Linked DNA regions of Homo sapiens: region 1 is linked to region 2. Evidence: promoter capture Hi-C in human tissues and cell types (Jung and others, 2019). All regions are on one chromosome and are shown on one strand. The core of a region is centred on a gene start or on the middle of the fragment in contact, and the rest is flanking DNA. Distances in the headings are between cores, read along the strand shown. Region 1 overlaps LOC124904265 (a long non-coding RNA gene). Region 2 holds the start of CTAGE1 (cutaneous T cell lymphoma-associated antigen 1).

Region 1 (4,663 bases), core at 279-2,778, 130 kb before region 2:
CAAGTCCTGGTTTCTAGTTATGTTATTTCTCTTAGGGAGGGGATGAGCAAGGTTTGGAGAAAGAAGGGAGGTTTCCCCAGTCATGTCATAGAGGAATGGGGTTAAGTTTTAAGGTTTCAACCTCTAATCTGGAGCCTTCTGAAACTTATAGAGCCTTCTGTGTTCTAAGATCCCAAGAACATAGGAGCAGAAACACTTTTCCAAATTGGCTTAAACACTCTCTCTTCCAGGATTTCTCTGTGACTCTGATTAAGAGAGAAAAAGAAGAAAGAGGAGGAAGAAGAGGAAGAGAAAAGTAGGGTAAAGGAAAGGCATTAACCCCCTACCCCGAATTCCAGTCCCCTAATCCAATGTGTTCAGGACATTTTAGCAAAGTTTTCCTAAATACTTTAAATTCATTGTCAGTGGGACTAAATCTAAGACAATTTTGCCGTGGGGACACTTGGCTCACTGTAGAGATATAACGGATCTAGCTCTGAAGGGACTTCACCAGTTTGCTGAGCATAAAAAACTAATTATGGGGCCTGATTAAGAAAAGTAGACATGTATGGCTTATTAACATAAAGTGGAGACTAATAATTGCTGATATGTGACTGATTCTGTGTTAGGTGCTTAACATGTCATGTTATTCCTTTCTCCCACCCTCTCTCCCTCCCTTCCCACATGATTATTGAGTGGTCTGGCACATGTCACTGAAGATACATTGCTGCCAACCCTTGTCCTCAAAGAGTGTGCTCTCAATTGGAAGAGACTGGCAGGTCCATGGGCAAGCCCAGTACGATGACATCCATGTGCTTATGATAGGGAGAGTACAAGGTATCGTGGCAGGACATAAGAGGGACCCCTATTCAGCCTTGTGGGCACAAAGGCTCTGGAGGGGTGATATCTAAATTTGGACCTGAAGCATGAGTAGCAATTAGTCAGATAAGAGGAGAGGAGACAGCAGGAAAAAAGCCAATTTCAGGCAGAGAGAACAACCTCTGCAAAGAACCGAAGATAAGAGCAAGTCAAGAAAGTCCGACGTGGCTAAAGGGAACTAAAGTGCCAGGAGCTGTGGAGACTAAAGATAGGAGGTAGAGTGGTAAGAAAGGAACTGACAAGAGCTTGGCAAGCCAGGGTAAGAAATACCCTGAGGGCACTGGGAAGCCATTTAAGCTGGGGAGAGGACCAAGCCCACTCGCTCTTGCCAAAGATCTTTCTGGAGGGAGTGTGGAGAATAGGCTGGGAGGAGAAGCCAAGGTGAGAGGCAAAGAGACTGCTGCGATGATCTAGGAGGAAATGATGGCACCTGATCTAGGGATGGAGACAGCTAGAAAATTTGAAAGAGTTGCAATCAAAAGGATTTGGCGATTTATTTGAGGTGAGAGTGGTGTTGGAGAAGAAGATATTAGGGAGATGCCTAAGTTTTCTGGCGATGCATGTGGCACCTTAGCTGAGTAGAAAACAGATCTGTGAGGCTGGAGGAAGCAAAGATGATTCTGGTTTTGGACATTTGATTGGAAGAGCCTGAGAATCATGGGAGAGAGTCTATGGATCCAGAGCTCAGGAGAGAAATGTGAGCAGAGAGAAAAATACCTAGAAGTTGTTGGCATAAGGGTGGCGATTAAATTGTGAGATTTATTTTTACAACAATCCTTAAGGCAGATATTACTACCCTTGTTTCCTGAGAAGGAAGCTGGGGTTTGGGAACCATAAGTAACTTGCTCAAAATCAGTCAGGGAGCAGGAGAGCGAAGGCTTTTAATCTGTGCATTTCTACTCTGCAACACTGCTTCTGTGTAAATGCATTTTGGATTTGGCCGTATTGCTTGTATGGAGTAGTTTTCTACCTCTAAGAATTCTGGAAAGCATTCCCTTTTTTTTTTCTTTCTTTCTTTCTTTTTTTTTTTTTTTTTTTTTTACAGGAACTCACATGAAGAAATGTCACTGTTTATAGCTTGAACATTCCTTTTCGGGGGCAAAGACAAAATACATCAACTTTTTAATGGAATTTCTTTTTGCCTGGACAGAATGATGCTTGGTCCTGGAAAGTATTATAAATGTCCTTCCAAGTGAGGCCTGCAGTGATGGCAAGCCTGGGTGTCATACTGACAACTTGCCCCCTTGTGTGTCCCCTCACGCTAGACATCTCACAGGAGTGTTGGCAGAAGCAGACAGCCCATCTCCCTCACTGATAGAGGCTGCCTCCAGGCCTGCTGGCTCCCTGTTCAGCTACCCCTCCTTCTGGGACACCCGCTGATGTCACTTGTCTCCTCTCTACGGGGATTTCCACTTTTTGCCCCACCTGACCCACAAATTCTACCTCCTTTCCTAGTCCACGTAGTGCCATAGTTGAAGGCTTTTCTAGTTTCCCATTCAGAGGGAAGCTGGATGTTTATTGCAGTGACCTCATCCCTCTTGGCGTCCTCCTCCCACCCCCACCCCCCCCCCAGGAACTGCCATTTTCATTTGCATGGCCTCAGGGGTCTTCCACTGTGGCGGACCTGCTTCGTAGCTGACACGAAGGCTCAAGCTCTAACCTCTCACACTTTCTCATATAACAGCTCATCTGCTTGTGGAATACATTTGTTTGTGATTACAGGCCGCATACAATACCACTGCACAGGGCCCATGTGATGGCCCGGCGCCATGAGAAAACACATTAGTAATTTTTTATGACCCTAGTGCAACCATGCAGGATTTCCCTAAAACAGAAAACATGAAGGGATTTTATTGTCTTGCACTATTTAGACATCCCTTATGGCTGATGCGTGTATATTGGAACTAACAGAACACAGGACTTCCCAGACATTTTGAGTTGAGAGGTTTCTGACTTCAGTTAGTGAACACCCCCGGTTTATCTACTCTGGGGGAAGTAAAACGCACAAGGAAATTAAAAACGAAAGGCATCAAGGTCTAGAATATTTTTCTCGGTATAACTAACTTCTGTTCTTAGATGAGTTACTCTTAACAAGTTACTTCTGAGAGTAATGTGAGATGATAAACACTGGAAGAGACTGACCGGTGAATCCCCAGGAATTCTCACTGCTCCTTTTGAAAAACTGTCCATTAGACAAGAGAGGATCTGGCATTCCTATGTTTTCTCTCTTTGTGTCTCTCTCTCTGTCACACACACACTCACACTCACACACATACACACACACACCATCCCGTGGTGATGTCCAAGAAGAAGATAGTAGGCCTTCATTGGGTCTACTTACATGGCCTTAAGAATAAGCATATATAATTCCTACGAGAAACTATTCCATTTTTGGCACTGTTGCTGGTGTTAAACGTCCACCCAGGAGTTTTTTTGACAAACTAGCAGGAGAGAACTCGAGCGATTCTAGCCCTCTCAGAGGAACTACATTGGAATGTTTTACTGCCTATCTATGAAGGACAAACTGACTCTGAATCTGGCTGCTCTGGGAGTGTGTTCCCGAGTGTCCAGGGAATGAATATAAGTCAGCCAAGAGTATGAGAAGGCAGCAGACACCATGGAGAGACAACTTGCCCTAGAAAACAGACCATAGGAAAGGCCTTAGGAAAAATGATGCTGCCTTTTGAATAGATAGCGCTAGTAGTTGGCATGACGGTGCCAACTATTCAAATCACATATAAATTCGGCTGCCTTTTTAAGCTGTATATCAGCCTTCAAAAATATGCATTCCATTCAGTGACAAAGGGTGAGAACCTGGCTGAGCACTTTTGTTTTAAGAGCCATGGGAAAAACATGGGAGACAAAGCAGAATAATAAAGGACAATAATATTTGGTTTTCACGTACAACTATGCTACGGTTATAGTAACAAATTTGCCAAGGTTCAAACAGATTTAACCTCCCTTTAAAAACTAATCTGTTGGTGAGATACTGTGGCAGGAAAAGCTGTTCATGTCATCTTATTCCTAACAGAATGGAAAAGACCGGTTTATATGGTTTTTGCTCCTCCCCCTCACCTGTAGCCTCCACTGGGATTGGGTGTGATTATTGTCTCTTGCTCACAGCTCACAGGGAACATAGGGTGGGCTCACCCTCAAATGTAAAATGATATTGATATGCAACATCAAATGTACCCTTGAAATGAAAGACTGATTTGTGTATTTCCTTTTTAATATTCCGACTCATACATGTTGCCATTTCTACTCACTAGTTACCCTGGAGACTATGTTCTGAATGCTATTATATAAACATTGAAAGATATCTTTATTTAACCAATCAAACATTGGAAGGAAGCACTAGCTCAGTCAATCCTGCCAAGCCATCACAAGGAGATCCTGCTGTAAGAAGGAACTGGGTCGATCTCAGGGGCTAACCCAAGGTTAGGCTTCAGGCTATCTGTGAATTTGCATCTCCTCCTTGGAGAAAGGATCTTGTACTTTTTGGATTCACTGCACTGGGGAGTGAAGTGAATCGCTAAACCTCAAGGGCACATCCAGAGACTAACTAATTAATCCCAGCATTAAGGGAAGACCTGTCCACATTCCGTACACTGGTGAGGCTCATTATATGGTGTATGTAGATGCAATTCATGAACTGGGATATGAAGTCGTGGCAACTTAATCTTGACAGTGTTGTAATGAATAAAGCATGTCCAAAGCTTGGTAGGTTAGGTGATACCTCTGCAAAGCATCACCATGAACCTACCAATGGAAGCACGTTTTAATTGTGTTTGGCTTCTTGTATCTC
Region 2 (4,807 bases), core at 106-2,605:
ACAGACACTGTCAAGCAGGAGGTTGCCCTGGCTGTGCACATGCTGCAAAGCATGCATGTGAACGTGATTCTGATCACGGGGGACAACTGGAAGACAGTCAGAGCCTTTGCCACCCAGGTTGGCATCAACAAAGTCTTTGCAGAGGTGTTGCCTTCACACAAGGTGACCAAGGTTCAGGAGCTCCTGAATGAAGGGAAGAAAGTCGCCATGGTGGGGGACGGGGTCAATGATTCCCTGGCCTTGGCCCAGGCAGACTTGGGCATTGCCACTGGCACTGGCACGGATGTGGTCATCGAGGCAGCCAACGTCATCCTCATCAAAAATGATTTGCTGGATGTGGTGGCTAGCATTCATATTTCCAAGATGACTGTCCAGAGGATATGCATCAAACTGGTCCTGGCGCTGATTTATAACCTAGTGGGCATACCCATTGCTGCAGGAGCAAGCTTTCCAGATGAGTTGAAGATATGTGCATGGGCGGGAGATGATGACTTATTGCAGGGCAAGGCGTCATCCGTGTTGAAGGAGTGCCAGTGTTTCAGAAATGGACACAGAGCAGGTAAGTTTGATGGACAGGTAAGAGAATCACTCTCTATGTGCCAGCACTGTTCTAAGAGTCCTGGATCTTCTGGGGATGAGATTAGCGTTTTTCAGTTGTACATGGGACAGCTGAGGCTCATGCTAGGGAGTGGTGAGCCCTTTCCTGGAAGAAGTTAATCTAAAAAGCATAATCTGTCTCATTTGGGAGGAGCTAAATAAATATCTCTTCAATGAAGCAAAGGTCAATCAGAAAATTTGTATTTTAGCTATAAAATTACCTATCAGAATTTACCATAGGGCATAATCTTAGTCAAGCACCCAAATTCATTATTTCAGCCACAGATACTGAAACACCAAAGGGATAAGGGGGCAGGTATTTCAGTTAGCTACTGCTGCATAACAAATGACCCCAAAGCTTAGTGACTTAAAACAATGATTTGTTATTCCTTATCATTCTGTCAGCTGGGAGGTTCTTCTGCCCGCCCCACCTGGGGTCATGCACAAGGCTACATTTAGCTAGGGTGTCAGCTTGGGATGGGCATAGCTGGGATGCTGGGTCACCTGAGTCTTTCTCACCATGTGGTACTGTTTTAAAATATAGGTTTTAGCGCTTCCTCAGGATGTAAAGTGTAACAAAGGTACCGGGGTGGGCAGTGTGGGTCTGTGAGGCCTACGGGTGCCCGCGTCCCCTAACTCCCCCCGCAGCCGGCTCCGCAGTGGTACGCTCCGGTTGCCCGTTAGGGATTCAGGTTCCAAACGGAATGCTGCGTCTTCTCCAGCGTTTGTTGTGGCCGAGGTTACTGCAGCAACCGCCAGAGCAGCCTTGGCGCTACGGAGGAGCCTAGGGCTAACCCTCAGCCATACCTGGGGCTGGTCCTGGAGTTGCTACGCAGGGTTGTGGCAGCACTGACTGAAGGTATGAGACCCGATTCTCATCCTTATGGTTTTCCATGGGAATTGGTGATACGTGCAGCTGTTGCTGGATTTTTTGCTGTTCTCTTCTTGTGGAGAAGTTTTAGATCAGTTACGAGTCGGCTTTATGTGAGAAGAGAGAAAAAGTTTGCTGTGGCACTTTCTGGACTAATTGAAGAAAAATGTAAACTACTTGAAAAATTTAGCCTTGTTCAAAAAGAGTATGAAGGCTATGAAGTAGAGTCATCTTTAAAGAATGCCAGCTTTGAGAAGGAGGCAACAGAAGCACAAAGTTTGGAGGCAACCTGCGAAAAGCTGAACAGGTTCAATTCTGAACTTGTGCATGAAATACTCTGTCTAGAAAAAGAGTTAAAAGAAGAGAAATCTAAACATTCTGAACAAAATGAATTGATGGCGGATATTTCCAAAAGGATACAGTCGCTAGAAGATGAGTCAAAATCCCTCAAATCACAAGTAGCTGAAGCCAAAATGACCTTCAAGAGATTTCAAGCGAATGAAGAACGGTTGGAGATAGAAATACAAGATGCTTGGAAAGAAAATTCTGAACTTCAGGAAAGCCAGAAACAGCTTTTGCAAGAAGCTGAAGTATGGAAAGAACAAGTGAGTGAACTTATTAAACAGAAAAGAACATTTGAAGACTCCAAAGTACATGCAGAACAAGTTCTAAATGATAAAGAAAATCACATCAAGACTCTGACTGAACGCTTGCTAAAGATGAAAGATGGGGTTGCTATGCTTGAAGAAGATGTAACGGATGATGATAACTTGGAATTAGAAATGAACAGTGAATCGGAAGATGGTGCTTACTTAGATAATCCTCCAAAAGGAGCTTTGAAGAAACTGATTCATGCTGCTAAGTTAAATGCTTCCTTAAAAACCTTAGAAGGAGAAAGAAACCAAATTTATATTCAATTATCTGAAGTTGATAAAACAAAGGAAGAGCTTACAGAGCATATTAAAAATCTTCAGACTGAACAAGCATCTTTGCAGTCAGAAAACACACATTTTGAAAGTGAGAATCAGAAGCTTCAGCAGAAACTTAAAGTAATGACTGAATTATATCAAGAAAATGAAATGAAACTCTACAGGAAATTAATAGTAGAGGAAAAATGCCGGTTAGAGAAAGAAGAGAAACTTTCTAAAGTAGACGAAATGATCAGCCATGCCACTGAAGAGCTGGAGACCTACCGAAAGCGAGCCAAAGATCTTAAAGAATTTGAGAAAACTATTCATTTTTATCAAAAGAAGATTATTCTCCATGAGAAAAAAGCACATGATAATTGGTCGGCAGCTTGGACTGCTGAAAGAAACCTCAATGATTTAAGGAAAGAAAATGCTCACAACAGACAAAAATTAACTGAAATAGAGTTTAAAATAAAACTTTTAGAAAAAGATCCTTATGGACTTGATGTTCCAAATACAGCATTTGGCAGACAGCATTCCCCATATGGTCCCTCACCATTGGGTTGGCCTTCATCTGAAACGAGAGCTTCTCTCTATCCTCCAACTTTGTTGGAAGGTCCTCTCAGACTCTCACCTTTGCTTCCACGGGGAGGAGGAAGAGGCTCCAGAGGCCCAGGGAATCCTCCGGACCATCAGATTACCAAAGAAAGAGGAGAATCAAGCTGTGATAGGTTAACTGATCCTCACAGGGCTCCTTCTGACGCTGGGCCCCTGGCACCTCCGTGGGAACAGGACTATAGGATGATGTTTCCTCCACCAGGACAATCATATCCTGATTCAGCTCTCCCTCCACAAAGGCAAGACAGATTTTATTCTAATTGTGCTAGACTCTCTGGACCAGCAGAACTCAGAAGTTTTAATATGCCTTCTTTGGATAAAATGGATGGGTCAATGCCTTCAGAAATGGAATCCAGTAGAAATGATACCAAAGATAATCTTGGTAATTTAAAGGTGCCTGATTCATCTCTCCCCGCTGAAAATGAAGCAACTGGCCCTGGCTTTGTTCCTCCACCTCTTGCTCCAATCAGAGGTTTATTGTTTCCAGTAGATACAAGGGGCCCGTTCATAAGAAGAGGACCTCCTTTCCCCCCACCTCCTCCAGGAACCGTGTTTGGAGCTTCTCCAGATTATTTTTCTCCAAGGGATGTCCCAGGTCCACCACGTGCTCCATTTGCAATGAGAAATGTCTATTTACCGAGAGGTTTTCTTCCTTACCGTCCCCCAAGACCTGCATTTTTCCCCCCAGCCCCCACATTCTGAAGGTAGAATGAGTTTCCATCAGGGTTGAGTCCGACTTCAAATGAGCCTGCTGCTGAACATCCAGAACGACAGCAAGAAACCTAACAACATGTTTGCCCTCTTCAAAAGTAATTTTGACTGATCTCATTTTCAGTTTAAGTAACTGCTGTTACTTAAGTGATTACACTTTTGTTCAGATTGAAACTTAATGGAACTATAATTCCCAGGATAGTATTTTGTAAATGAGGATGATTTAAATATGAATCTTATGAGTAAATTATTTCATTTTATTTTATTCTAGATAGTATAACTTTTAATTTGATTAATCCACTATTATATAAAGAATGGTGGGAGCTTTATATATGTAATCTTGCAGGTGGGGAGGCTTTAAATTGTCTTTATGTCAAGAACTGTATTTACTGTGGTTGTAGACAAATGTGAAAGTAACTTTATGCTTAAATAAGTTTTAGTTGATTAAAAAAATTTAAAAAATTTAAAAAAAGAAATATATAAATATGCACAGGTGGGAAGGTAGAATACTATGTAACTGTTAGAATATTTCACTTTAAACCAAGATGATCTTGGATCTCCTGTCTTATAGATTTTATATCCTCTTTCAGTACTTTGAGAGTGTAAAACATTTATAGCAGAAAGTATTCGTGTTTCCTCTGTTTTCCTCAAGAATGGTTTCTTCGCCCTCCCTTTCCTTCCCTTCGTCTTCCCTAAGCTAATTTCTTCCTATGTTTGTCATCATATCATTACATAATTGTGTTGTTATTTCTTTTGTTTTATTTTTATTTGGTGGGAACAACTTTATCCAGAACTTTTACTTGCCCCAGAATTATATAGATCAGTTTCTCCTGACTTCTTTCCCAACCTTTACCTCTGTTGGTGTTCTAATAGTTTTAGTTTTATGTTCTGCTTTTCTCTTGCTGTGGCAAGGGGAAGGAGTAAATCTAAGATAGTGCTTAATTGCAGTTGGTGAATTTGATCTCTGATTGAGCTCTCTTCTCTGGAATTCTGTTAAAAGATGAAATGTATCGTGTTCCCTGAGAGACGCCCTCAAATTTTGGATTAGTCCTTCATGCAAGCTGGGCCACCAAGCCATTGCTTCTTTTGGGGACAACCTGCC

Evidence for each region. The method cuts DNA at HindIII sites, captures the fragments that hold promoters and counts their contacts. A contact is called where the count stands out against the background at its distance.
Region 1: a contact is called between a fragment that was not itself captured here and the fragment with the promoter of CTAGE1 in region 2, in 1 of the 25 tissues and cell types used here (mesenchymal stem cells).

What each region holds. Positions count from the first base shown.
Region 1 is chr18:22,545,858-22,550,520 of GRCh38, reverse strand. All of the region lies in intron 2 of LOC124904265 (a long non-coding RNA gene), which reads right to left. Among named protein-coding and RNA genes, the nearest start is that of CTAGE1, 130 kb to the right of the region's middle. The HindIII fragment of the contact is 8,698 bases long and covers 1-4,663 here.
Region 2 is chr18:22,414,463-22,419,269 of GRCh38, reverse strand. CTAGE1 (cutaneous T cell lymphoma-associated antigen 1) reads left to right here and starts at 1,355. Exons shown (of 1, transcript NM_172241.3): 1 at 1,355-4,807. The coding sequence starts at 1,459. The coding sequence ends at 3,696. It also overlaps the pseudogene ATP7BP1. The HindIII fragment of the contact is 3,989 bases long and covers 702-4,690 here.